Regions from separate parts of the Homo sapiens genome. Here regions 1, 2, 3, 5, 6 and 7 are each linked to region 4. Evidence: promoter capture Hi-C in 16 types of primary human blood cells and fetal thymus (Javierre and others, 2016). All regions are on one chromosome and are shown on one strand. Each heading gives the region's core, a stretch centred on a gene start or on the middle of the fragment in contact. The rest is flanking DNA. Distances are from core to core; before and after follow the strand shown. Region 1 has its middle 180 kb from the start of NLRP1. Region 2 overlaps LOC339166 (a long non-coding RNA gene). Region 3 has its middle 150 kb from the start of NLRP1. Region 4 holds the start of WSCD1 (WSC domain containing 1). Region 5 overlaps LOC339166 (a long non-coding RNA gene). Region 6 overlaps LOC105371509 (a long non-coding RNA gene). Region 7 overlaps LOC105371509 (a long non-coding RNA gene).

Region 1 (3,782 bases), core at 411-2,910, 310 kb after region 4:
TCTTTAAATCAGCATCAAACTGAACACTTTGGCAGCTCCCTGCAGACCCCCTCCTGGCTTAGCAACTGCAGCAAAGAGAGCTTCCCTTCTCCCACAGTTCCAACACAACCGAATCTCATTGAGCCTCCTTGGATCACCTACCTGCCTGTTCCTGAGTGGCTCGTGGCCATAGGAAAGGAGCATACAAGAATCAGTGAGGGCTGAGCCTCAAGACCATCCCTGAAAGTGGGGGGAGATGTCACCCTAACTAATGTACTGAGAGAAGAGGGGGCAAAGTAAGGTGCTGTGGCCAGAAGAAAGGGGAGTGGGTGCAGGCAAAACTACCCGCTATGCCCCACAGAGGCGCACGGGTTTCAGGGTCCTGACCAAGCATCGGGAGCCCAGTGGAACTCGAGCCTCTGCCATCCTGGTTTGGTTCTGATAGAGTTCCATGAACCATCCCTGTCCTAAGTACAAAGCCCCAGAAGTGAGATCAGATAAAGCTTTAGGCGTGCTCAGAACCAAAAGGGAGCGAGGGAGAGAAAAGAGCTCCCAGATCCCTTGTGTGCCTCCTCTTTGAACAAAAACCTCAGAACCCATACAAGCCACCAGCTTACTCCCCACCAGCCAGAGGGCTGGCCACTGCCACCTACATTGCTGATGGGCAAGAAGAAACAGCCCTCCCCTTCCCAAAGAGAAGGAGTTGTTGCAATTCGGGAAGTCTCGGTGAAGCTATAAGAAAAGGTCACAGTGGAATAGATGATGGAGGTTGAAAGAATGCCCGTGTCTTTGGAGATTGGACCTGCAACACAGCCTTTTGATTTTCTTTTTAATCATCAGTCTCTAATTCTGGGACATAAAATTACAAGCTCATTGATAATGATCAGTGACTTACCGGAGAAAGCCCAGCGCTAATTAAGAGCAGAAAAAGCTGACACTGCTTTTCAACTTTCACCGAAGCCCAGCAATGAAATTACCTGGTTCTGCGGAGAAAATAACACCAGCAGGCATGGAGGGGGCCTGGGTTACCTGATTAACGTGTGCTTGGCCCAATTAATACACAGAGAGAATTCCTTTGAGTGTTAGCAGTTTGCAGGTAATTGGGGCATTGATGGACGCTGGGAAAAGCAGCCGAGCTCGTGCATGAACACAGAGCCTGTGTCTGCTGTTACATAAAGAGAGATTTGCAAAGTCCATAGACGACTCTCCCAGTAGCTGCCCAGGGGTCAAGAGTCAGTGTGTAGCCAGGGTCTCAGTCTTTGATAAGAGTCAAAGGTCAGAGCTCAGGGTTTGGTCAAGGTTAGAGATCAGTGTGTGGCCAGAGAGAGGTGAGTCTACATCCAGGATGGGGGACGGAGTTTTTCTGTGCCTGGGATGAGGGACTCAGGCTCGGTCTATCTCTCCCATCGTATCTTCTGTACCTCCCTGCCTGTCTTCTCATGCCGCAGCAGACTCTCTTCTCCTATGTGTTTCTCATCTCTTGGTGTAGCTTCTTTCCTCTGACTCCAGACATAAGAGGAGTTTGACATTGACCTCCCAGCCTTTGACTGTATAAAGAGACCGCTTAAGGCACTTTGAGTTAGAAGCTCAGACCGCTTGAGAGCTATGGCATCCCTGAAGCATGTCATGACCCTCCTTGGAGTCAATGCCAGGGAATGGCAGAAGGGCAGGTTGTATAGCTTCCACCGGGGAACTCCCTTCCCCAGTCCTGTAGCCCTGAGCACAGGCTACCAACAGGGCTCTTGGCTCCCAATGCTCCTTGTCAAGACACTGATGAGATCGACAGAGCTGCCTTTTGATCATGTCAATGGTTCAGCTCAGCCTAAGTGATGGACTCTTCAATGCCATCCTCATAGTGGTCTTCTCAGGACAGTTCTAGGGATTCATTCTAGGAAGGAGGACCTGGTGCTTTAAGCCAGACAAAATGCTAGGGAAGGAGTTGATGCTTTGCTCAGCACTCCTGATGCTCATTTTCTGGTGGAGTCTTCCTTGAGGTGCCCAGCCTGGAACTGAATGGGGTGCCACACACATCTTACACTAGCAGTAGGGTAACCAATTGTCCTGATTTGCATGGGACTGGGGAGTTTCCTGGGACAAGAGACTTTCAGTGCTAAAACTGGGAGAGTCCCAGGGAAATTAGGATGGTTGGTCACCCTAGATTCACGGGAATATTGGCTCATCTTATCCCTGGAGCCTTGGACAGGCTGGTGCTGAGGGTGTTGTCCTTCATTCTGTTGCTACCAAGGCTCACCAGTTTCAGCACCAGATGCTGGTGGTCTGGAGCCAGACACCATAAACATCTGTATCACTGCTTTCTCCTCTGAATCCACAGGATCAGAGATATCACCACAATGAGGAGAGAGTGGGAGGGAGAGAAATTCAGCTCCACAGGGTCTCTGAGAGGACTCACTGCAGAGCACCTGTAAGATACCCTCTGTGCACTTGCAGTTCACTAGGAGGAGCTGACCCCAGGGCTGCTGGAGTCCCTGCTCCATGAGTGGGAACTGATGCTTAATAAGAACCCAATTTTTACACTCTGCTGAAAAAGACCCAGGAAATATGAGGTACATTTATATTGCTTTCTTGCTTTAAAACACACATGCTGTCTTAGTCATCTCAGACTGCCATAACAAAATACCACAGACTAGGGAGGCTTAAGCAACAACAGACATTTATTTCTCACGGTTCTGGAGGCTGGAAAGTCCAAGATCAAGGTGTCAGCAGATTTGGATTTAATGAGGGCTCTTTTCCTGGCTTGCAGATGACTGACTTCTCACTGTGTCCTCAGATGGCAGGGGAGACAGACCACTGGCATTTCTTCCTACAAATACAATCACGTTCATTGGAGGTTAAGCTTCAACATATGGATTTTGGGAGGTCACAGACATTCAGTCCACAAAACACACACACACACACACACACACACACACACACACGACTCTCCTCAAATCCTAAGAGCAAGGCCAGGCAGGAATTACTGTCTCTACTTTGAATATAAAGTCACAGGCTCAGGAACCTTAAGGAACTTCCCCAAGGCCATTAATAATTACATGCTAATATTTTTTAAATATTTTTTTTTTGAGACAGAGTCTCGCTCTGATGCCCAGGCTGGAGTGCAGTGGTACGATCTCAGCTCACTGCAACCTCCACCTCCTGGGTTCAAGCAATTCTCCTGCCTCAGCCTCCAAGTAGCTGGGATTACAGGTGTGCACCACCACGCCCAGCTGGTTTTTGCATTTTTAGTAGAGATGGGGTTTCGCCATGTTGGCCAGGCTGGTCTCAAACTCCTGACCTCAGGTGAGGAGGCCTCCCAAAGTGCTAGGATTACAGGCATGAGCCACCGCACCAGGCCTTTTCTTATTATTTCTAAATTATCATGCTTGTAGCAGAGCCTGTCAACTTCCTACCTACATCTTCTCAGCTCTTGCCATTCCAGTCTCTGATGACTGTGTCCTGCTACAAGCACCTGGGCTCACCTCTCCCAGGTGCTGCCCTCAGCCATCACAGGTGGGAACTGGAGAATAAATACCACGGCTTCCTTGCCCCTCTGATATTTTACATGTTCTGTGCAGTCTTCTAGAGCTTCCCAGTGGGATGAACTGCCACTTCCCACGTGGTAACCTGATGAGTAACACACAGTTTGGCTCCCTTCCCTTCCCTGTGTCACCTCCCCTGTCCCCTATCTGAGCTCACCTCTTGGATAAACAGCTTGCACCCAAACCCTGTCTCAGTGTCTGCTTCTAGGGAATCACAAACTAAGACAATGTTTTTGAACAAAATTTGGAAATTATAAAATCCATACT
Region 2 (4,223 bases), core at 1,035-3,534, 290 kb after region 4:
AACACAAATGCAGGGTCCGGCAAAAAGCAGGCAGCACAGGGGACATGCTTGACTGGGAATGAGAAAAATGACTGTGACTAGAGGGAAAAAAATTCCAATTACTTCAAATTTGGCAATTGATCCTTCTTGCACAAATGGAACCTGGCCAGGCATGGAGACTCCAGGAATCTCTTGGGGGAGGTTGAGGGTTGCTAGTGAAAGGGGCTTCAAGGGGTTTTGCTGCAAATTCCCGTGGAGCTTGGGGGATGGAGTGGATGGGTGTCTGACTTGTGTCTGAAAATTTTAAAGGACAGAAGGTTGGCTGAAGTAGCCTGTGGCAGCATTGTAGAGAGCAGAGGTGAGATGGTTCAGAGTGGTCTTAAAAGAAATTTACCCAGAGGGCTGCCTGGAGGGGCATCAGGACCCCAGAAGACAGTCTGCGTGAGGAAGAGCATCCCCAGGAATCAGAAGTCAACAGAGAATGTCATAAACTGCCCACAGAGAGTGGGCAAGTAAAAGAGATCCCAGAATAGGGATGAGGGTAGTATATGGCATCATAGGTCACGATGATTCACTCCTTTATAATAGTCACAGTTTGGCTATGGACTCCTGGTGAGCACAGGTGACTGCTCACAGGTGCCTTGCTCCTTTACTTTGAGCTAGGCCTGTGACTTGCTATGGCCAAAGGGGTATTCTGAAAGCAGGGAAAAGGTGAGCAAGGCAGGGCTGCAAATATGCTTGCATGTGGCAGGGCTAGCCCTCTGGTGTCCCAGTGATCCATCTTGAGAAGATGAACCTGGGCCTGAGCCCTACAGGGAACACAGAGGGGCCAAGAACCAAACCCACAACCTGGAGCCACAGCCACCTGAACCCATAGCTTGAAGCAGACCCACCAGCCAAACAGTCTGAACCAGCCAAACAGCTGCAAACCCATGACCATGAGAATAAATGCTGGTTTTAAGCCACTGAGTTCTGGAGCTGTTTGTTATGCAGCATTATCCAGCAGAGGTTGATAATACCAGGGGTCTGAAAAACTCTCAGCAGCACCTATGAGAGAAAGGCTTGGCTCTAAACAGCAGCTGATGTCAGAGGAAATAATTGCCAGATTCCCCTCACCCCATACACACAGTTATGAAAACCATCCCTGCCCTTTTCTTCTTTCCTTACCCTAGTCCACACCTCCTAGCCTCACTCATCCCTCATTAGCTAGTGGGATGAGGAGAGGAGAATGGGCGAGGGTGATGGTCAGTTTTATGTGTCAAGTTGGTTAGGTTACAATCCCCACGTATTCAAACAAACATGAATCCATGTGTTGCTGTGAAGGTATTTTGTAGATGTGATTAAAGTCCATAATCAGTTGATGTTAAGGAAGGGAGGTTATTCCAGATAATCCGAGTGGTCCTGATTCAATAAGTTGAAAGCCTTAAGACCAGAACTGAGACTTCCCTAAAGAAGAAGAAATTCCACCTGCAGATAGCAGAATCAGCTCGCGCCTGCAAGTTCCATCCTGCCCTTCCTGGAAGCCTTCCCTACAAGTTTCAGGCTTGCCTAGGCAGCCCCTACAATCACATAAGCCAATTTCAGGCAATAAATCTCTTAATATTTATCTCCCATTGGCCTTGTTACTCTGGTTGAACTCTGACTGATAGAGATTTCTGGAACCTAGAAGTGAGGTGCTGCTATAACAAATACACAAAAATGTTGAAATGGCTTTGGAACTGGGCAGTTGGCAGAGGATGAAAGAATATTGAGGGGCACAATAGAGAAAGCAGAGATTGTCTTGAACATACTGCCAATAGGAAGATGGATGTTAAAGCCTCCACCATGAATGACCAGAAGGAAATAAGGAGCACAATAATAAAACATGTAGCATTTTACTAAACACCCAAATCATTGTGAACAGCCCATTGGCAGAAATAGAAGTTTAAAGATGCTTCTAATGAGGGCTCAGAAGGAAATGAGGAGCGTGTTATTAGAAACTGGACGAAAGTGGACCTTTGTTACATAGAAGCAGAAAGCTTAGCTGAACTGTGTCCTACAGTCATGTGGAAAGCAAAACTTATACATGATGAACTTGAATGTTTAGTTGAGGAGATTTCCAAGCAAAGTGTTGAAGGTGCAGCCTGTTTTCTTCATGCTGCTTATAGTAAAACATGAGAGGAAAGAGGTAAATCGAGGAGAGAACTGTCAAGAAAAAGGAATTGGGAGATTCTCAGCCTATCCACAATTTTGCAAATAATACAAAATTAGGGGATTCGTTGTCAAGAAAGCATGCACTGGAAAGGAGGTACGAAACTGGAAGTGGTGTCAGACCAATGCGGGACCACAAGCCAAGGAATGCAGGCAGCCACTGAGACCTGGAAAAGGCAAAGAAGTAGATTCTCCCCTAGAACCCTCCACAGGAATACTGTCCTGACAACCCATTTTGGACTTTTGAACCACAAGATAATAAATCAAGAATTATAAGACAGTAAATCTGTGTTGTTTAAGCCTCTAAGTTCATGATAATTTGATGCAGCTTCAATAGGAACCTATTGCAGGGAGTAAAGAGAGAAAAATCTCCCCCAACTCCCTTTCCTGATTGCAAGCTTTAAATGAAGTTTGGAGCCTTGGGTATTGCCCCAGATTAGACATACTAATTACTGAACTGAGACTGTCCAAGGGGCTGAGGCAACCAGATAACATTTTATGATCTAAATGTGGTCAGAGAAGTGCAGGGCCTTCTGGAGATCTCATTAGGATCAGGGGAAAACAAGTCCTACAAAGTGAGTTTAAAGAGGCAAAACTAAAGTTGCTTTATAAAGGCATCTGAGGCCAGGCACAGTGGCTCACGCCTGTAATCTCAGCATTTTGGGAGGCTGAGGCAGGCAGATCACCTGAGGTCAGGAGTTCAAGACCAGCCTGGTCAACATGGTGAAACCCCATCTCTACTAAAAATACAAAAATTAGCTGGGCATGGTGGTGCACGCCTGTAATCCCAGCTACTCGGGGGACTGAGGCAGGAGGATTGCTTGAACCCAGGAGGTGGAGGTTGTAGTGAGCCGAGATTGCACCACTGCACTCCAGCCTGGCAACAGAGCAAGACCTTGCCTGCATGGAGGGAGGGAGTCACAGGAGTACCCTTATGTCTTGGAGTCTTTGGTGAATTATTAGCCAGGGTTTCACCCACTCAGTCCCAGGTCTAGACTCAAAGGTCAAATTCCCTGAACATGAAAGAGTCCCCTTGGGATGCCATAGGGAGCAGACGTGGACCATGGACCCCACACAGTGAAGCTGAGGCTGAGTGGTTTTGAATTGGGATGGGACTATCTCCACATCCAAACCCTGCCCCTTCCTAGGTGTGTGTCTTCAACAAATGACTGAACTTCTCTGGACCTTGCTCCCCTTATTATAAGGACCATCATGCTCACTTCATGAGGCTCTAATGAAGGTTAAAGGAGACAGCACTAAGGGAGTAGTAATGCTCAAAAAACAGTAGCTGTAATAATAATAATTAATATTACAATTAGATCCATCCCCACTTGCATCTGTGCCTGCACCTGCACTGCACCTGAGCCATCCTCCACCTGCACCTGAGCCATCCTCCACCTGTACCTGCATCTGCACCTGAGCCATCCTCCACCTGCACCTGCATCTGCACCTGAGCCATCCTCCACCTGCACCTGAGCCATCCTCCACCTGTACCTGCATCTGCACCTGAGCCATCCTCCACCTGCACCTGCATCTGCACCTGAGCCATCCTCCACCTGCACCTGCATCTGCACCTGAGCCATCCTCCACCTGCACCTGAGCCATCCTCCACCTGTACCTGCAGTGCCGTCGCCACCTCTGCCACCACTGTTCTCACCAGCCCCAGCCCCACCCCGACTGTCAGCTACCACAAGGCCTTCCCTCCTGAAAGCTCCATGGCCATAAACAGTTTATGTGATTATTACATTTAGCCCACATTTGCAATGACTTCCTCTCTTTAATCACTTTGAAGATGTTTCAAATTCCTTTCCAACGTGACTGAAATCAAAGTGGCACCTGTGAAGGGAGAAAGCCTGCCTGCCGGTGCGAGGTGGAGACGTAAAACAGTCAGGTTTGATGGGGAGAAATTATGTCTTGCTTAATTCCTTTTACCCTATAATTACCAGGCGCGACCACGTGGGTTCACAGCAAAAATAACTTGCCACGTGAAGACGTTGTCTATAGAATCCTGGTTTGAGTCCCCAGGCAAGACCCTCAGAGGAGGATCCCAGGCA
Region 3 (3,740 bases), core at 79-2,578, 340 kb after region 4:
ATCTCGGCTCACTGCAAGATCTCGGCTCACCACAGCCTCCGCCTCCCGGGTTCAAGCAATTCTCCTGGCTCAGCCTCCTGAGTAGCTGGGATTACAGGCACATGCCACCATGCCAGGCTAATTTTTGTATTTTTAGTAAAGCCAGTGTTTCACTATGTTGGCCAGGCTTGTCTTGAACTTCTGACCTCATGATCTGCCCACCTCAGCCTCCCAAAGTGCTGAGATTACAGGCATGAGCCACCGCGCCCAGCCTGTCACCTCTGTTCTATCTTCCAATTCTGTATTCCAAATTCCAAATTCTGCAGTTCAAACTCAAGTTCTGAATTCTAAGTTGTACCTTCTGGATTCTGTTACATGTCTGTCTCCTGCCCCTAAATCCTTCCTGGGTCCCATCCTTTTTCCCTGTCTTTTTGGATGGAATGTCTGGACATCCTCCTGACCTTGCCGATTTGAGGGGTTTTTTTTAGCAGTTCCAGGATTTTCCCCATCAGGAGGGACTTGGTTTAGACTAAACAGCAAGTGGGTGGCAGTGGCTCAGTGGAGATCAGGGAATTCCTGAGGACCTGGCTTGGCCTGACCTGACCTCCTTCCCTCCCATCCCACCTCTAACCACTGGACATACTTCCTTTTGTGCAATTAAGCTAAACCGAGGATTTCTGTGGTGATAGCTGGGGACTGAGAAATCTTAGGAAAAGATGTCAGCAGACCTAGAAGATTGCTATGTTTCATTCAGAGAAATTAGGAACTACTTCCAGCAGGGGGAAGGAGGGAGGAGGGGAAGGCAGGAAGGAGCTGAGCTGAGCTCTAAGTCCTCAGAATTTGTCATCCTTCAGTTCCCCGTTGTCTGAGCTAAGCATGGACCCTCAGAGTCCTCCCAGAGCCAAGAGAAAACCATGACAGTAGGACTGGGGTGCTCCTCTGTCCAGGGTTGCCCTGAGGGAGAAAGGGAAGAAGGTAGAAGTGTTGGGAGCATGACTGGAGAGGTGAGGTCTTCAAGAGGACCTCAAGAGGATCCTCAAGAGGATCCAAGACTCCACGTGTTGCCCGAGGGGAACTGTACAATAGACATTTCATCCCAAGCCCTCTTCCTGCAGGCAGCACTTCGGGTCTCCTCCCAAGACTGTGGGTCTTTATAGGACCAGAGATGATGCACAAGGTGGAGCTCTCCTATTTGGGAGGAGCCACGATCACCTCCTGGTTCTCCTGCTGGGACTTGCTGCTGGTACCTGCTGGCAGGACCCCAATTGTTCCCCTACTCCATCATGGTTCCTGGCTTCAGCTTGCATGTCCTCAGCTCATAAGATGTTGGGGTCCACGCTGGGCTATGGCTCATTCCAGAAGCTGAACTCAAGGAGCAATTGGTGTCTCCTGGACAACAGCATCCAGCTGCACTCCTTCCGGACCTCCAGGTACTCCTTGTCATGCAGTCCGCGAGGGCTGAGTAGCCACCTGAGAACCTCCACAGGTGCAGTGCCTGGTCCTGCTCCCTACAGCACGTGTTCCACTTGCCCATGAGGGAGCAGGGTAGTCCTCATCCTAGTGCAGTATGGACAGTGCTGCCTCCATCAGTGCCTACTATAGGCATCCGGGCACTCAGGCTTCTCACTGTGAAACTGGATCTTGTAGAGGTTGCTGGTCTCCTTCTTGGACAGCAGGGCAGAGTGGGCATCCTTCCAGGGATCCACTTTGTGAACAAAGAGGGAGCAGAACCAGTAGCCTTCGTTGTCCTTGGGATAGAAATGCAGCACAGCCGCAGCTGCAACATCCCCAGCACAGGCCTGGGCCTTCCAGTAGCCACTGTGACACTGCAGAGATGCTGCACAGCCACGAAGCCATGTTGGATCAGGGAAGGTTGCAGGAAGACCTCATGGTGTGTTTGAAGAGAATGTATATTCTGCTCTCACTGGGTGGAGTTGCACTAGGTTGGTGCAAAAGTAATTGCAGTTTTGGCCCATGAATTTTAAATCATTATAACTAGGTTCAAACACGTTTTTTTTACTTTTAATTTTTTAATTCAATAGGTTTTGGAGGGGGGGAACCGGTGGTGTTTGGTTACATTAATAAGCTCTTTAGTGGTGATTTCTGAGATTTTGGTGCATCCATCACCCAAGCAGTGTACACTGTACCCAATGTGCAGTCTTTTATCCCTCACCACCCCCGACCCTTTCCCCTGAGTCCCCAAAGTCCAATGTATCATTCTTACGCCTTTGTGTCCTCATAGCTTAGCTCCCACATATAAGTGAGAACATACAATGTTTGGTTTTCCATTCCTGAGTTACTTCACTTAAAATAATAGTCTCCAATTCCACCCAGGTTGCTGTGAATGCCATTAATTCATTCCTTTTTATGGCTAAGTAGTATTCCATTGTATGTATATACCACAGTTTCTTTATCCACTTGTTGACTGATGGGCATTTGAGTTGGTTCCACATTTTTGCAATTGCGAATTTTGCTGCTATAAACATGTGTGTACAAGTTTCTTTTTGGTATAATGACTTCTTTCCCTCTGGGTAGATACCCAGTAGTGGGATGGCTGGATCAAATGGTGGATCTACTTTTAGTTCTTTAAGGAATCTCCAAACAGTTTTTCATAGTGGCTGTACTAGTTTACATTCCCACCAACAGTGTAAAAGTGTTCCCTTTTCACTGCATCCATGCCAACATCCATTACTTTGATTTTTTTTATTATGGCCATTCTTGCAGGGGTAAGGTGATATCACATTGTGGTTTTGACTTGCACTTCCATTATAATTAGTGATGCTGAGCATTTTTCCATATGCTTGTTGGGGCCATTTGTTTATCTTCTTTTGAGAATTGTCTATTCATGTCCTTAGCCCACTTTTTGATGCAATTGTTTGTTTTTTTTTTCTTGCTGATTTGTTTGAGTTCATTGTAGATTCTGAATATTAGTCCTTTGCCTGATGTATAGATTGTGGAGATTTTCTCCCACTCTGTGGGTTGTCTGTTGACTCTGCTGATTATTCCTTTTGCTGTGAAGAAGCTTTTTAATTTAATTAAGCCCCATCTATTTATCTTTGTTTTTGTCACATTTGCTTTTGGGTTATTGGTCATGAAGTCTTTGCCTAAGCCAATGTCTAGAAGAGTTTTCCTGATACTATCTTCTAAAATCTTTATGGTTTCAGGTCTTAGATTTAAGCCCTTAATCCATCTCGAGTTGATTTTTGTATAAGATGAGAGATGAGGATCCAATTTCATTCTTCTACATGTGGCTTGCCAATTATCCCAGCACCATTTGTTGCATAAGGTGTCCTTTCCCCACTTTATGTTTTTGTTTGCTTTGTCAAAGATCATTTGGCTTTTTTTCTGGGTTCTGTATTCTGTTCCATTAGTCTATGTGCCTATTTTTATAATAGTACCATGCTGTTTTGGTGACTATGGCCTTATAGTATAGTTTGAAGTCGGGTAATGTGACGCCTCCAGATTTGTTCTTTTTGCTTAGTCTTGCTTTGGTTATGTGGGCTCTTTTTTGGTTCCATATGAATATTAGGATTGTTTTTTTCTAATTCTGTGAAGAATGATGATGGTATTTTGATGGGAACTGCATGGAATTTGTAGATTGCTTTTGGCAGTACGGTCATTTTCACAATATTGATTCTACCCATCCATGAGCATGAGATGTGTTTCCATTTGTTTGTGTCATCTATGATTTCTTTCAGCAATGTTTTGTGGTTTGTCTTGTAGAAGTCTTTCATGTCCTTGGTTAAGTATATTCCTAAGTA
Region 4 (3,840 bases), core at 830-3,329:
CCACTTCCCTAGAGGCCCTGCTCGGAGGGGTTCCATCAGGGCCTGGAGGCTCTGGATTCAGAGGCTCTGAGTCGCCTGCTCAGGCTGATGCCATAAGGAACCAGCTCTGTGACTCATTCCCCAGTGCTCTGGCCAAACTGATCAGGTTGGAGGCTCAAGCTTCAGCAGCAGACCCACTAGTGGCACTGAATATCCACTTCTGCTCGGTTAGGAAGACAGGAGGAAGAGACAGGAGTCTGGCCTTCTGCCTTATCCCAGCTTCTCTTCACTTCCAACCAGACATGCCACAGGCCACAGGGCAGTACCCCATAGGGCACAATGCCCACTGAAGAGAGGGATCCCCTCACCCCAGAAGAAGGCATTTTTACAGAGGAGCTGTGGAAATGGCCCTGCTGAGGCCTGGAGGATGCAGCCACAGGTGAGAGCCTTCTGGCGGAGAAGATGAGGCAGTCAGGCTCAGCCACCAGCCCAACCACCGCCAAGCCTCCTTCAGATCCCATGCCTGGGAGAGCTCCTGCTCTTCCTCCTAGAAACCCTGAGCTCTGGCAGCCGGTTGAGGCCCCTTCCCGGAGGATCTCCTGAGGGCCAATCTAAGTGTGTGGGGGTGGGGGCATGATTGAGAGAGACAAACCTCATTCTCCCATAGCCCAAGGAAACCTCCCCTAGCTCTCTCCCCAGCACCTGCAGCCACCAGGAGTGGGTGATTGCAAACAGCGCAGGGCAAGCCAGCTTTATATCTCCTGTAACTTTCACTCCCCACCACCCTCACTTTCTGTGCCTGACAACCTAGGCAAATCAGAGGAAAAAAGAAAGGCCCCCACTCCTGATGCCAAAGTGGGATAAACCAAGTGCCTCCATAAACCTAAGCATGCTGTTCCAGCAACAAGAGGGATGCGGGTATCTCATGTTAGAAAAGTACAGCGGAGTCCTGCATCTGTCCATCTTGGGAGCTGCAGGGGCAGGGCCAGTGTGGGGAGCAGCTGGATCCCAGTGCAGGGCTATGAGGCTAGAACTCCTATATGAGCCTTCCCACTGCTCAGCGGAAGGAAGAGCGGTCCCCTTCCCCACCCGCATTCCCGATCAGCAGAGCAGGCATCATCCCAGGCGCACAAATGCTCAGGAAAACCACCAGCGAGGTTACCCGGAGGCAGGGGACCCAGCCAGGTACGTACGCTCCTGAGTAGCCAAGAAAAACGCAATTTAGCAACCTTCAGTCGTGAGTCTCCGTCCACACCTACGAAGACGCAAAGCTCTACACTAGGTAATTTTCTGGACAAAATACATACGTTTTGCTTTTGCCTCTGCCTCTGTTCAAGTTCACCAAGAGACGGAGCAAACCCTCCGCTGACCGGAAGCCTCTCTTGGTAGCGGAACGAGAGGGAGCTGCTTCTGGGTAAACGTCGCCGCCTAGGAGGGAAGCTGTGCGCACCCCACACCCTGCCCTCGCCCCCTCCCCGGGACCAACCGCAGCGCCCTCCCGGGTGACGGACGGGCTCTCAGGACTCCGGAGGGGGACGCGGCTCGTGCGGCGCCTCGCGCACCCCCACCCCATCCCGGCCGCGCCGAGCGCCGCCCCCGCCCCCCCACAACCCCTGCACGCACCCGCTCACTCTCCCCTGCCCCGGCCGAGCCGCCCCGGGCCCCCGGGAAGGTGCCCCCGGCAAGCCCGCCCTGCAGCCGGAGCAGGTGCAGCCCCGCCGCGCTCCCAACCGCGTCTGCACAAACTTGTTTGCCCGCGGCAAGGGGAACACCCTGCTCGCAGCCCGCGCGGGGGTCCGGCTGGAGCGCCGAGAGACAGGACTCACCCCGCGATCGCGGCCGGCTGGGGCGCCCGCACCCGCGCCCATGGCCCGCCTTCCCCGGGCGCCGAGCCCGCAGCCCCCCGCAGTGCCCGGAGCCCAGAAGCCCCGGCGCCCGCACGTCTCCGGCCGCCCGCGGCAAGCGGACCCACGCGCCCGGGCACAGGGCGCCGCCGCCTGGCTCCCCGGGGCTGCTGGCGTCCGGGCTGAACGGCGGGGCGGGCGGGCGGGCGCGGAGCCGGGGCGGGCAGCGGGCGGGCGAGCGGGCGCCGGGCTCTGCACATGCTCACTCGCGCGGCCCGGGGACAGCGGCCGGCCGCCGCCGGGTCCTAGAGGCGCCGGTGCGCACCTCCCGCCGCCCGGGGGAGGGGTCGCGGCTCCGCCGGAGGGGGCCCACGCCCTGCCCCGGCCCGCGAGAACACGCGCGCGGGGCGGGCCACACGCGCCACTGCCGAGCAGAGACGCCGCCACCCACTCTGATACACACACACACACACACACACACCAGTCACCCAGAGCCACAGCCTTTCACCGGGGCCCCACGGGCTCTAACACACGCACCATGACGCTCACACCCAGACACAGACCCACAAACACACGGGGCACTGCCGCGCAGAGGAGAGCACGCCGCCACTCTCCCATGCAGACTCACAGCGACAGCCGCACACTGCCTGACACACACATCCCGAATCACTGCTTCCCAGAGACACCGACACCCACACTCACACACACACTCTCTGGGCTCTGCCCCACTCACCCAGAAGCAGACTGGGCCACTGTGACAGGCACGCACACGTACACACACAGCCACACAGTTTAGAGTGCACTCTAATACACACACACACCACACACGCACGCACACACACACACACACACACACACACCGGATCACCGTCCCATGCAGAGCTAGAGACAGACGGTCACAGCTTCACACACATTCACACTCAGAAACAAGCACCTGCTGGAACACAGACACTCTCACACAATCTGAGACAGACCTACACAGAATTGCAGCCCTACAAATACCCTGACACCAGCTCCCGCGTCTACACACTCGGGGGTCGGCCGCCGGCTTATCATACTGCTCCACACCGCACACAGTGACAAACCCACGCCTTGACATAGTTGCCCACAGAAGCAATGTCACACACTGGTGTCTACTAACAGACACACTCTCAGAGGGGCATACTGGGCATTGACCCACAGGCTCTCTCTCTCTCTCTCTCTCTCACACACACACACACACACACACACACACACACACACACGCACCGAGGTGGAAAGAGGCTGAACAGTCACACAAGTCTATACACAATCCCCCTCTTTAAATAAAGGCTGGATCCAAACCTAAAGATTTTTCCCAGGGAGGAGCCCCACCCTGTTCCCCCAAAGCCGCCAAGTCACAGCATCTGCCCTGCTCTGCCATGTGCACCGGTGGACCCTGTCCTCACCCGGAGCTGGCTGCTAAGATGCTCCCAGAAGCTGAGGACAGCAGAGGCAGCAGGAGCAGGTGGTGGTGCCTCTTACTCCGTCTTCCTAAAAGGGAGTTTCATGCCTCCGACTCCCGCTAGGGGCAGAGCTGCTTGGCCTGGCTCCGAGGAGCTGGCTTGCAACAGGTGCAGGTGGCAGGGAAAGCGTTTGCCTGGGGACCAGTCACAGTCCCTCCTTACGCGGGTCAGTCAGGTGGCGCCCAGAGCGGGAAGAGACTCGCTGCAGTTTGCATAGCTATGTCTGGCCAAGTGCAGAATTAGAACAGAGTCTGCACCATCCGCATGAAGGCAGAATGCTCTGAAGGTCTTGGGGCACCTGGATTTAATATCCTTAAGCCCAGGAAGAGGATACAGTAAGTGAGAGACGAATTCTGTGCTGCCTCAGAGTCCCAACCTTGCAGAAAAGCCCCCTTCACATATATATCCTTTACAGAATGTGAATGTGTGTGTCGTTACGATTTATAACAGCAACCCACTGTGCAGTCTCGCAATGCTGTTTGGTTTGCAAAGCCCTCTCCATGACCAGCTACATAATTTGAAGGGCCTAAAAT
Region 5 (3,733 bases), core at 863-3,362, 270 kb after region 4:
ATCACTCAAGTTGCCTGAGGTTTAATGGTTTCAAAATTGAAGAGGGCACGAATTGGGCTTTCCCCCTCACTCCCCGCTCCCCTCTTTTGCAGAAAATATCCTAAAAATAAAATTAAGATGCCAGGACTGCCGTCCTCCCAATTTGAGAAGAAAATTCTTAGCTTCCTTCCAATACATTGTCTTTTGCATATAAAGACAATGCTCCCAACCTGTCCCTTTTCTCAAAATGAAGGAAACAGCTCTGAGTTCTGTTCAAAGCAGATAACTTGGCCCCATACAGTCATCTGAGCTCTCACACGTTTGTGACCTAACCTGCAGGGGTCACTAGGGGTCAGAGGATATCTCGGGGATGTCTGGATAGACTGGGGCTCCTCTGATAATCAGGACCGGGCCAGGCGCAGTGGCTCAGGCTTGTAATCCCAGCACTTTGGGAGGCTGAGGCAGGTGGATCACCTGAGGTCGGGAGTTCGAGACTACCCTGGGCAATGATGAAACCCCCATCTCTACTAAAAATACAAAAATTAGCCAGGCATGGTGGCAGGTGCCTGTAATCCCAGCTAACTCAGGAGGCTGAGGCAGGAGAATGGCTTGAACCTGGGAGGTGGAGGTTGCAGTGAGCCAAGATCGCGCTGCTACACTCCAGCCTGGGTGACAGAGCGAGACTCCATCTCTCAAATAATAATAATAATAATAATAATAATAATAATTAATTTAAAAAAATTTTTTTAAAAGATAGCCAGGACCAAGGTCCTCATTGAGGCCAGGGTCAGGGCTCAGCCTGCAGCATGATGCAGCTGCCCAGTCCTCAGAAGCAGCAATCTGGGCATCCTCAGCCCCAGAATCTTACCACAGACTCAGGAGGCCCAGTCCAGGTCAGATGTTCTCAGCTCCTCAGTTGTTCATGTGCAGAACAGACCCGCCTGTCACTGGACCTGCCTCTGAGTCCGCACTACAGAGCAGCCTGGCCAGCCCCGCCTCCCTCTCAGAAGTCGGTTTTATATCCTGCTCTGGCACCTTCTCCCAGGGAGTGCTCTGAGGGTGTGCTGGAGACAGCGGTGGCTCACATCACCATGACAATGACGCGGCAACCCAGACAGCTCCTCCACTGTGTGGTCTATCTCTCCATCTGGGTCCATGGGTTGTCTTTCAAAATTAAATCAGAAACTAAGGAAAATGAATAAAAAATCACTGGGCCGACTGGTTTTTCCCACTGAGGGCTTCTGAAACCAGCCGCCTAGAAGTCCATTTATGAGAAACTGTAAGTAACCCTTCATCCAGCCCTAGCCACACCCTGTCGTGAATTCTCAGGGCTGCTGGGTCCCGGAAGATGATCTTCCAAAGGCAGGGACGGGGAGAGAGAAGGCATTGAGTGGAGCAAGTGCGCCTGGGGAGAGGATTTGGTCCCCTGGGGGTGAGGGAAATGTGCCCCCGTTTTGATCAAAGATGGAAGAAACAGCAGACTTCGGCCATGCTGAAGATTCCTTCCACAGCCAGATGCAGGCTTCATCATGTGGCCTGTGGCCAGAGAAGAGTGTCATCCTCCTGGTCAGCGAATACATTTTGTACTAACTGAATCTCGTTGCAGGAGAATCTTCCTGGCTTTCTAAAATCTAGTAGTGTTGCCGGTGGAAAACCTCATTCAGACAGCAGCTCTGTGGACTGGGAGCAGCGGGAGGAGGACAAACTTTGAGGGGACTTTTTCCAGCTAAGAATGGTTTTTACATTTTTAAATGGTTGCAACAAAAGGAAGAAGGTGGAGGAGAAGGAGGAAGGAGAGGGGGAAAAAAAGAGGAAGAAGGTCATATATGACCCTCAAAGCCTAAAATATTTACTCTGATCCTTTACAGAAAAACTTTACTGATCCCTAGTCTAAAGCAAAGGGCTTGAATTTCAATCATGGTCCACAAATTTCACTGTGAACAAAAAAATTCTTTGTAACTTTATTTCAAGCTTCTGCTACGGTGCATAAACCAATCTCAGGGGACCCCCTCCTTTCCCTGGGGTTGTGGCCACATTCCTATATAGCTCGAAGTCAATTGGGTGTTCAATGTCGTCCATCCGCACGAGCATCTTCTGAGATGCCCATCATCCTCTCTGCCCCTCGCAGGTCTCTCATCTGGCTCTTTCAGGTCTGCAAGCTCCGGCCTGTATTTCTGCGGCTTGTCTGAAAACCCAGCAATCATTCAGCTGCTCCTGCACCGCAACAGGGAACAGGATTTTTACAGATAGACCATATGGTCCCACCTTGTCGATAACTTCTTTCTCTAAGCTTCCCTGGGGTCCCCCTCAGAGAGTGGGGCACAGGTCCTCTCTGTTCCCAGATCCCACAAACTTCTCTTGGGGTCATGCTGCCTCCCCAGGGCTCTGCCCAGGAGGTAGGGACCAGATTGCTCCCCCCGGGACACACAGGGAACTATACTCTCAGCTTCTCCTCCACTCCTGTGTTCTTTTCTTCCCTTAGCGTTTGGAATCTTTGCTCTTCCAGAGACCAGATGGTGGTTACTCTTCTCAGTCTCCCGGTCTTAAATATTTTTGTCTGACTGTTCAAAGGAGCTTTTTGTTCTGTCTAATACTGTTATTTTAGAACATAAAATTCAGGAAAAGAATTCACAACCCTTTCCTTTCTGACATACCCCTTTTCTCTGAAGGAATCAGTACAGAATGATCAGACTGCTTAAAATTGGAGAGAAGGCCATGCTGGAGGAGAGAAAGGTCTGCGATATTTCACAACTATTTTTCCATCATGCTAAGCTGTTCATTTGTAATTAACTTATTTACTTATACCAGGCTTACTATACAGCCAGCTTATATTGGCTCTCAAGAGCCAATTGTTGAATTTTCAGAAAAGTTCCAAGCTGGTTGTTAAACCATTGGTAGCTTGAAATTGGCCACAATAGGAGCATTTATACCACAAAAAGTGATGAACATACAAAGCCAGGCATCTCCTGACCTACCTCCAAAAGAGCCAGTTGTTAACATTTACTAGCACACAACTGCTCATACCCACCTCATTCCACAAAGGACTTCAGGTAGATTTTCCAAGTGCGGTGTGTCTGAGATGTTAATCACTGCCAGTCCCACTCATTCTCACTCTAATTAGATTTTTTCTACTCAGAGTTTCTGCTGAATAAGCAGCTATGTTTTCTACCCGACGACCCTCCCCACCTTAGCCCACATGTAGCCCTGGCTAACTGGCCTGTGGTGGGCACCCGGCGCAATAGAAGACAGTCCCTAGGAGGGCCAGAAAACCATGCCTTGGAGACCTTGGCTCAAAAAGATGAGGCTATATAGCACTCAGTGTATGAGCTACCCCAGATCTGCACATTTGATTTCTATCTGGAATGGCTGGAGCCGTGGCTTGTCCCATTCCTGTGGTCTTACAGTCAAGTCACAGTCAGAGTCAGGTTGCTGTGGACTCTACCCCTGCAGCAGCCTGGGGGACTTGCTCAAAACCCTCATCGCCACCTCACCCCATGCCTGCTCCAAGCCTCTTGCCTCCCACCTCAGGACGTCCTTGTTGCTGCAGAGACAAGAGACACCAGGGGACCCAATTGAAGCTCACATTACAAACAACCCAGAAATGTGAGGAATTAGCATCCCTTGAAGCAAATTCTAACCAAAAGGATATGGGAGCCCACAGATAAATTCTTACCCTTCCTCCCCTAAGAGTCCAGCCTAGATCAGTGCTTCTCAGTCTCAGCACTGCTGACATCGTGAACCAGATGATTCTTTG
Region 6 (3,813 bases), core at 276-2,775, 270 kb before region 4:
GATTACAGGAGTGAGCCACCACGCCTGGCCTGGACTTCTGTTTTAAAAGACTCAGTCTAGCTGCTCTGTTGAGGATAGAGTGTGGGCAGGTGAGAGCCAAGGCTGAGAGGCAGTCACAAGGTCTCAGCAAAGGGCCAGGGGAGATATGACTTGGACCAGGGTGTAGTCATGGAGGTGTTCAGACATGTTTGGATTCTTGATACTGTAACCTTATCAGACCAATCTGGTTCCAATCTGGTTCAACTTTTTTTTTTTTGAGATGGAGTGTTGCTCTATTGCCCAGGCTGGAGTGCAATGGCATGATCTTGGTTCACTGCAACCTCTGCCTCCCAGGTTCAAACGATTCTCCTGCTTCAGCCTCTCAAGTAGCTGAGATTACAGGCACACACTGCCATGCCCGGCTAATTTTTTGTATTTTAGCAGAGATGGGGTTTCACCGTGCTGCCCAGCCTGGTCTCGAACTCCGAGCTTAGGCAATCTTCCCGCCTCAGCCTCCCACAGTGCTAGGAGTACAGGCGTAAGCCACTGAGCCCAGCTTGGTTCAACTTGTAAGAAACAAAGTTATGAATTGTTTTTCAGTTGCCGTGACCCTCAGGTTGAAGGTCACATAACCTGAGCATGCCCAGATGAACCAAGTGTGCAGCCAGAGGGGGAACCTAAGGGCTTGGACTGACGATCGGGGGACTGAATTAAGAAGTGGACATGGCAGGACCCAGGATCCAATCAGGTCAATCCCTAGCATCATCTCATGGAAGGATCCAATCAGATCATGCCTCCCAGCATCACTTCATTGCAAGATCCAATCAGATCATGCCTCATTACTTCATGCCTATAAAACCTGACCCAGCCCTCTGTTTAGGAGGCACTGTTTTAGGAATTATCCCCTGTGGTCCCCTTACTTGCTGCAAGTAATAAAATCCCCTTGTTAAGTCCTTCTTTGTTGTGGTTATTGGGCTGGCACCCACGAAGAGACTGAACCCATCCATTGGGCATGTAGCAGTACATTTTCAAGGCGTAACCAACAGGATTTGTGTGTAGTGTGGACGTGAGGAGGGACTGGGCATGGTTCACAGTCTGGTTCTGGGCTGTTTCCTCTAAAGTCTTTTCACTGCACTCTAAACAATCACCACATCAACCTTTGAAGCATGGGAAAGGCTTTTGGAGAATGGGTTTAAGATCAACGACGTCTGCCCTATGAAACATCCTCCTCCCAGCTATGCTTGTTTCCTGCTTTCTGGGGCTGGGGGTGAAGAATCTGAGTCACTGGGATCCCAAGGCAGGGACAAGTTCTGCCATGTGTCTGAGTGAAATGGGCCAGGATATAGGCCAACCACCAGCTGGTGGAGCTCATGGGTCAGGCTGTCCACTGGCTCTGACCACCGTGATGACCACCCGGAGTTCTGGCACCATCGAACTTGGAAGCAGAATGTATTTGGCTGTGAAGGATGGCCACAGTGAAGCAAAGCTCCCTGGTGAGGCCTGTTGAATTTACAACTCTCCTCTTTGTGATGGGGCCAGACTTCCCAGTTCAAATTAGACCCAGGATGTTCTGTTAAAAAGAGGAACAGGCCAGGTGCCGTGGCTCACGCCTGTAGTCCCAGCACTTTGGGAGGCCGAGGTGGGTGGATCACGAGGTCAGAAGATTGAGACCATCCTGTCTAACAAGGTGAAACCCCATCTCTACCAAAAATACAAAAAATTAGCCGGGCATGGTGGCAGGCGCCTGTAGTCCCAGCTACTCGGGAGGCTGAGGCAGGAGAATGGCGTGAACCCAGGAGGTGGTGCTTGCAGTGAGCAGAGATCGCGCCACTGCACTCCAGCCTGGGTGACAGAGTGAGACTCCATCTCAAAAAAAAAAAAAAAAAAAAAAGAGGAACAGAGAATTATATTGATTGGCCATGTTTTATAATAACTAAAATTCAATAATATGCCTTGTTAAGTGCAGAAGGGAAAATATCCCTACTGTAAATATAGGTTACAGGAGACAGATGAAGAAATTATATTATAGCATGGCAAGATGCTAATGTGATATGTGTGTTCTATAAATATCATAGCATCAGATCCGCCTGGAAATTGAATTGGTTTTTCCTGCTTATTGGACTCAACCCTCTCTGCCTTCTTGTTGCATGGAGACTTTGAATGAAGAATAGAAATATGACCAGAAGGAAAGTTTTTATCTTGCTTAAAGCTGCACAATAAAAACGTGATTTTGTAAAGGGGAAAGCAATCTACGGTGATCTGTATTTAGGAGATACCTCATGGAGGCATCTTTGTCCTGTGGTGCTTCTGCAAATAGCAATTGAAGAATAATTAAATCTTTAGTTTGTTGGAACAGGAGGGGATTAAATGGGCAGTTCTGATCAACTCCAAATTGTCTTTTAAGTTACTAACTTTCTGGGTCACTGCACGTGACACAGAAGCCACAGTGGGGGCTGTACCAGCTTCCAGAGCCCAGTGCTCCTCTCTCAAGGAGACAGTGTTTGAAATATATCTGTGATTGAAAACACTTAAGTGTGAGGCCTCCAGCGCTCTCCCCTTTCAAGGTGACAGTAATTGAAGGATGGTACCATGCAATCCTGACATTTATAATCCGGCTGTGGAAAAGGTCAGCTTCCTTTTGGATCTGCACTGGAGCCAGCGGGACAAGAGCTCTGAGACGTCACATTACGTCTTTGATATTTTTAGGGATGCTTTGATTAATAACAGCTTTAATTTGCAATGTACGTATAATTATAACCACCCCCCCCCAACCCCGCACCACCACTCTCCACTTTAGGAAATGACAGATTCTAACTATAAAGCCATCATCTCCTCCACAGAAGGGTTTGAGTGGAGGCCCACAAGCACTTGGGGACAAATGGTCTGCATGAGAAATAAGCTCTCTTCTTCCTTAGATTCACGCTTTAGACCCGATCGTGAAGGGCCTGGAATGCCATGCCCAGGAAGCTGGAATCTACCTGGAGGGCAGTGGGAAGCCACAGACAAGTTGTGAGCAGAAGGGCATTAATGAGCATGTATTTGATTTTTTGCAAGTACACTTGGTGACGGATTGGGGTGAGGGTCAGGGAGGAGAAGGTGAGACTGGAAGTAGGAATTCCAGTTAGTAAGGAGGCTGTGGGTGCCAGCTTGTACCAAGGAAGAATTGGGTGAAGATGGAGAGAAGGAATTCACAGGGGAAGCATTTGGGATGTAGAATGGACAGATCTTGAAAACAAGCAGGTGTTGGTACAAAGAAGAGAGAGCTGTTGAGGCTGACTCTGAGGACCTTCCAGTTGACTGGATAATCATCAGGTCTTTCTTTAGATGATTCCAACCACTGGCGTTTGCTTAGGTTTTCTTGCAGAGAGGTTGTGTGAGTCTGAGCTATGTCTGCTCATGCCAGATTCCTTTAGGTCAAAGAACAGATTGTGGCCGTCGTTCTGGGCATTGGGTCCCACAGTGAGAGAATGTTTCCAGGATGCAACTCCACCAGTAACATCTGGGCCCAGAGTCAAAGCAGCAGATCCAGAGATTAGCCATGCTCAGTACATGGGGTGGAGGTCCCGGGCAGGCTGCCTTATGGTAAACAAGATGTACCCCCAGTTGTGTGGAGGGAAACCATCGCATACCGTGGCCACTTGTGACAATAGTGTATGTTCCAGGGTGACTAGAGAGAGTCAAGGATTGGTATGTTGCTGGGGGTCAGAGTTCAGTTTGTGACGAAGGCATAGAATCATCTATGACCACGTCAGGGTTTAATTCTGTGGCAGGGGCCAGAGTTCAACATCTGGCCAGGAATAAGGCTCAGTGAGGGCTGAAGTCAAGGTCAGTGTG
Region 7 (3,722 bases), core at 88-2,587, 290 kb before region 4:
CAGGTGCACACCACCACACCTGGCTAATTTTTTGTATTTTTAGTAGAGATGGGGTTTCACTATGTTGGCCAGGCTGGTCTCGAACTCCTGACCTCGTGATCCACCACCTCAGCCTCCCAAAGTGCATCAGAGATTTTTATCTTCACTGGGAACCGCTCTTCTTGCATCCTATGGCATTCTGGTGGGACTATCAATCTCAGTGCTTCCTGTACAACCTGGCTACAGGGCTATTTCAATTCTGCCCACAGGGATTGGGCCAAAGGATAGACATGTGACTCAGGCAGGACCAATCAGATTTCTCCCATATTGAGTTGCCGGGTAAAATACAGCCCACCCAATTAACTGAATTTTAGATAAACCACAATATTAAGTGAAGCTGCTTGTGGCCAACTTTGCTGGATATATCCATTTACAGTTGGAGAGAATGAGGGTGATCTATAAAAGGAGCTGAGATGTAAGCAGGGTGAACAGCAAACGGGTCTTGAGAACACTGTTTGAGTCTCTGACCCTGGTCAACTCTAGGTCCGGACGTCCCAATGCTATGAGCCAGTAAATTTCCTTTCCTGACTAAAGTCTTTTGAGATGAATTTGCGTTACCTACAAACGACTCCTAAAAGTGGCAGAAATTGGTACTTGGAATTGGCATTGCTGAGCTGAAGAGGAATGAGGCACAGGGGAATACCTCAGTTTGTAGCTGGGAAGCCCTTGTTATCAGTAGCTATGCAGCTGGTTAAATTGTTACTGTGTGCTTACTGAGGATGGCACTTCAGGGGATTGGTAGATATTTCGGGGATATTAGAGTATGTTGGCTACTCCTTATGGCCTCTTGGGAGGGCATAAATGTAGTCCACAATAAACATGGTCTAAGCAGCTCATCTGGAAAACAGAGAGGAAGGAGCAAGCAGTGTTGACAGAAGAACCCTCCCTTCCCCTTTCTTTAGACTAAGTCTTGATGGGATAAGCCATGTGCCTTGCAGAATTGCAAAAGTAGAATTTCCTGCTTCTGGCTAAGATAGGAAGGCAGAAAATAACATAACAGAGCAATAAGATTGGATAGGGAGGAGCCAAAGGAATAGAGGAAGCTGATCCCCCAGTTCCTAAGCAACTCTTCAAGCACCCTCCTGTCTTCTGGAGGAAATGATACCTTCATTATAAAGTGCATCCCTGGGATATAACCTTGAGGCAGAGGGCAGACAAAATCTGCCTTAGAACAATTTTTTCGGACTACTTTCCTCCAAGCTTACAAGCTGTTGTTCAACATTCTAGTTCTAGCCTATTTTTAAAATTCCAGTGAATTTGACATTATGATATATTGTTTTGTACAGTCATTGCTTAGACTTTGCCAGTTATTTTACAATATTTATCTCATTATTCTACCTTCCATTTTAGACCTTTCATTTGGGACCATTTCTCTTCTGTGTGAAGCATAAGCTTTAGAATTTCCTTTAGTGGGCATCCTATACTAGTAAATTATCCGTTTTTATTGTCTCAAAATGTCTTTTAAAATCCTCATTATTGAAAGAAAAGTTTCTGGATATAGAATTTTACGTCTACAGTACTTTCAACACGAAGATAATCTTCATGTTTTCTCTCTTCCATTGTAGTGTTTGAGAGGTTGGTTGTAATCTTAATTGTGGTCTTCTTTTTCTTTGATATTTTGCAATTTCACTGTAATGTACCTAGTATAGAGATTTAAAAAAATATTATTCTGCCTGGAATTCACAGGTTTTCCCTAAACTGAGAATTGGTGTTTTTCAACAGTTCTGGAAAATTCTCAGCTATTGTCTCTTCCTGTATTGCCACTTTCTCATTCTCTTTGTTATTTTCTTTTGGAACTCTGATGATCATTATATTAGACCTTCTTGACATATTTCCTTTGTTTAATCCCTCTTCCATAGTTCCATCTTTTTATTCTATGGGCTGCACCTAGATCATTTATTCAGATCTTTTAGTTTACCATTTCTCTCTTCACAGGTGTTTAATCTGCTAGCTGATATGTTTAGTGAATTTAATTTTTTTTTTTTGAGACAGAGTTTCGCTTTTTTTGCCCAGGCTGGAGTGCAATGGTATGATCTTGGCTCACGTCAACCTCCACCTTCTGGGTTCAAGCGATTTTCCTGCCTCAGCCTCCTGAGTAGCTGTGATTACAGGCATGTGCCACCACATCCGGCTAATTTTTTTGTATTTTTAGTAGAGACCGGATTTTTCCATGTCGGTCAGGCTGGTCTCAAACTCCCAACCTCAGGTGATCCACCCACCTCGGCCTCCCAAAGTGCTGGGATTACAGGTGTGAGCCACCGTGCCTGGCCTTTAATTATTATTATTGTATTTTATTTCTATTTAGCTTAACTTCCATTTTTTCCTGTGTCTATTTATGTGTATGTTATATTCTATACCGAAAAATTCCAATGTCTAAAGTTCTTGCGAATCTTTTTTTTCTCTGAAGGTTTTTACGCATGATACTTTATTTCCTCATATGTTTTTATGTTTTGTGATTTTGGGCTGTAAGCTGCTTATTGTCCTTGGGACTTTATTTGTGAGGATTCTTGGGGACTTCTTTGAGGTTGAGTTTCTCCAGAGAGGATTTTTATTTGCTTCTGAAGTGCCCAGGGGCACTGCCTGAAGTTTTTTGGATCTCACAACTAGTATAATTTTGGATCTCAAAGTTATGTAAGAAGTGGCCTGTGTTTACAATGTTTTCCCCCTCCAACCCATGCCAGAGTGCATTGGTTAAGTTTCCTTGTTGCCTCTTTGTGGCGATCCAGGTTTACTACTTCTTTTTTTTTTTTTTTTTTTTTTTTTTAATTGAGATGGAGTCTTGCTCTATCACCCAGGCTGGAGTGCAGTGGTGCGATCTCGGCTCACTGCCAACCTCTGCCGCCCGGGTTCAAGCGATTCTGCTGCCTCAGCCTCTGGAATATCTGGGATTACAAGTGCATGACACCACACCTGGCTAATTCTTTTGTATTTTTAGTAGAGATGTGGGTTGTGCCATGTTGACCAGACTGGTCTCGAACTTGTGACCTCAGGTGATCTGCCCGCTCTGGCCTCCCAAAGTTCTGGGATTACAGGTGTGAGCCACTGCTCCCAGCCCAGGTTTACTTTTTATTCACTTTTAGAGTCTGGCCTCTGTGAACCTCAACGTTATGCAGGGATTTCACATTAGATCGCCAGCCTTGGGCTATGACTGGCTTTGGTTTCCTGTCCCCTACACCTCAGATAGTCATCAGAGAAGAACCTCAGCGTTTCCGGAGGTTAGCAGAAGCCTTCAGGGAGAAAGCAGACTTTGGCACTCATTTTCCTTCCAGACTTCTTATTTCACTTTGTTTTAGGGCTTTGCAGAGTTCTGACTTTCGTGCCAACTCAGTAATGCATTTCAATAGATTTTAAAAAATATTTTATTTAACCATTTAGTAGTTTCACCTGGGAAGGTCCTTCAGGGCAATCAAATCTACCCTGCTGTTGGAAACGAGCCATTATGTTATTCTTTATAACTCAAGTTAATTTCTTATTAAAACCATCATCAACTTTATCTCCGTTGATTTACCTCTTTTGCCCCTGCTCTGGGTAGGTGGGAAGGGCTTTATGGTGCCCAGGCATAGGTGTGGGAGCAGGGTGTGTCTGATCCCAATATCATATTCCCATGTGGGCATAGGTGGAGATGGTTCACCTGAATGATGACTGAGCCATCCATCCGGCCTTAAGACATCTTCAGGTCTGTT

Evidence for each region. Contacts are between HindIII fragments. The CHiCAGO score rates a contact against its expected background, and 5 or more counts as called.
Region 1: a fragment that was not itself captured here is called in contact with the fragment with the promoter of WSCD1 in region 4 in 3 of 17 cell types (endothelial precursors, M0 macrophages and M1 macrophages); the score reaches 10.1 in endothelial precursors.
Region 2: a contact is called between a fragment that was not itself captured here and the fragment with the promoter of WSCD1 in region 4, in 4 of 17 cell types (endothelial precursors, M0 macrophages, M1 macrophages and 1 more). The highest score is 13.6, in endothelial precursors.
Region 3: a contact is called between a fragment that was not itself captured here and the fragment with the promoter of WSCD1 in region 4, in 1 of 17 cell types (endothelial precursors). The highest score is 5.6, in endothelial precursors.
Region 5: a fragment that was not itself captured here is called in contact with the fragment with the promoter of WSCD1 in region 4 in 2 of 17 cell types (endothelial precursors and M0 macrophages); the score reaches 11.1 in endothelial precursors.
Region 6: a contact is called between a fragment that was not itself captured here and the fragment with the promoter of WSCD1 in region 4, in 3 of 17 cell types (naive B cells, M0 macrophages and M1 macrophages). The highest score is 5.8, in naive B cells.
Region 7: a fragment that was not itself captured here is called in contact with the fragment with the promoter of WSCD1 in region 4 in 7 of 17 cell types (endothelial precursors, M0 macrophages, M1 macrophages and 4 more); the score reaches 9.3 in endothelial precursors.

What each region holds. Positions count from the first base shown.
Region 1 is chr17:5,761,242-5,765,023 of GRCh38, reverse strand. No RefSeq gene overlaps it. Among named protein-coding and RNA genes, the nearest start is that of NLRP1, 180 kb to the right of the region's middle. The HindIII fragment of the contact is 2,351 bases long and covers 485-2,835 here.
Region 2 is chr17:5,781,314-5,785,536 of GRCh38, reverse strand. All of the region lies in intron 1 of LOC339166 (a long non-coding RNA gene), which reads right to left. Among named protein-coding and RNA genes, the nearest start is that of NLRP1, 200 kb to the right of the region's middle. The HindIII fragment of the contact is 570 bases long and covers 2,000-2,569 here.
Region 3 is chr17:5,728,321-5,732,060 of GRCh38, reverse strand. It overlaps the pseudogene LOC100128284. Among named protein-coding and RNA genes, the nearest start is that of NLRP1, 150 kb to the right of the region's middle. The HindIII fragment of the contact is 3,350 bases long and covers 1-3,003 here.
Region 4 is chr17:6,068,618-6,072,457 of GRCh38, reverse strand. WSCD1 (WSC domain containing 1) reads right to left here and starts at 2,079. Exons shown (of 9, transcript NM_015253.2): 1 at 1,806-2,079. RefSeq lists an enhancer at 2,012-2,843. The HindIII fragment of the contact is 6,207 bases long and covers 162-3,840 here.
Region 5 is chr17:5,798,103-5,801,835 of GRCh38, reverse strand. All of the region lies in intron 1 of LOC339166 (a long non-coding RNA gene), which reads right to left. Among named protein-coding and RNA genes, the nearest start is that of NLRP1, 220 kb to the right of the region's middle. The HindIII fragment of the contact is 319 bases long and covers 1,953-2,271 here.
Region 6 is chr17:6,339,638-6,343,450 of GRCh38, reverse strand. LOC105371509 (a long non-coding RNA gene) reads left to right here. Exons shown (of 4, transcript XR_934188.3): 4 at 580-932. Among named protein-coding and RNA genes, the nearest start is that of AIPL1, 94 kb to the left of the region's middle. The HindIII fragment of the contact is 5,958 bases long and covers 1-3,813 here.
Region 7 is chr17:6,358,491-6,362,212 of GRCh38, reverse strand. All of the region lies in intron 2 of LOC105371509 (a long non-coding RNA gene), which reads left to right. Among named protein-coding and RNA genes, the nearest start is that of AIPL1, 75 kb to the left of the region's middle. The HindIII fragment of the contact is 192 bases long and covers 1,242-1,433 here.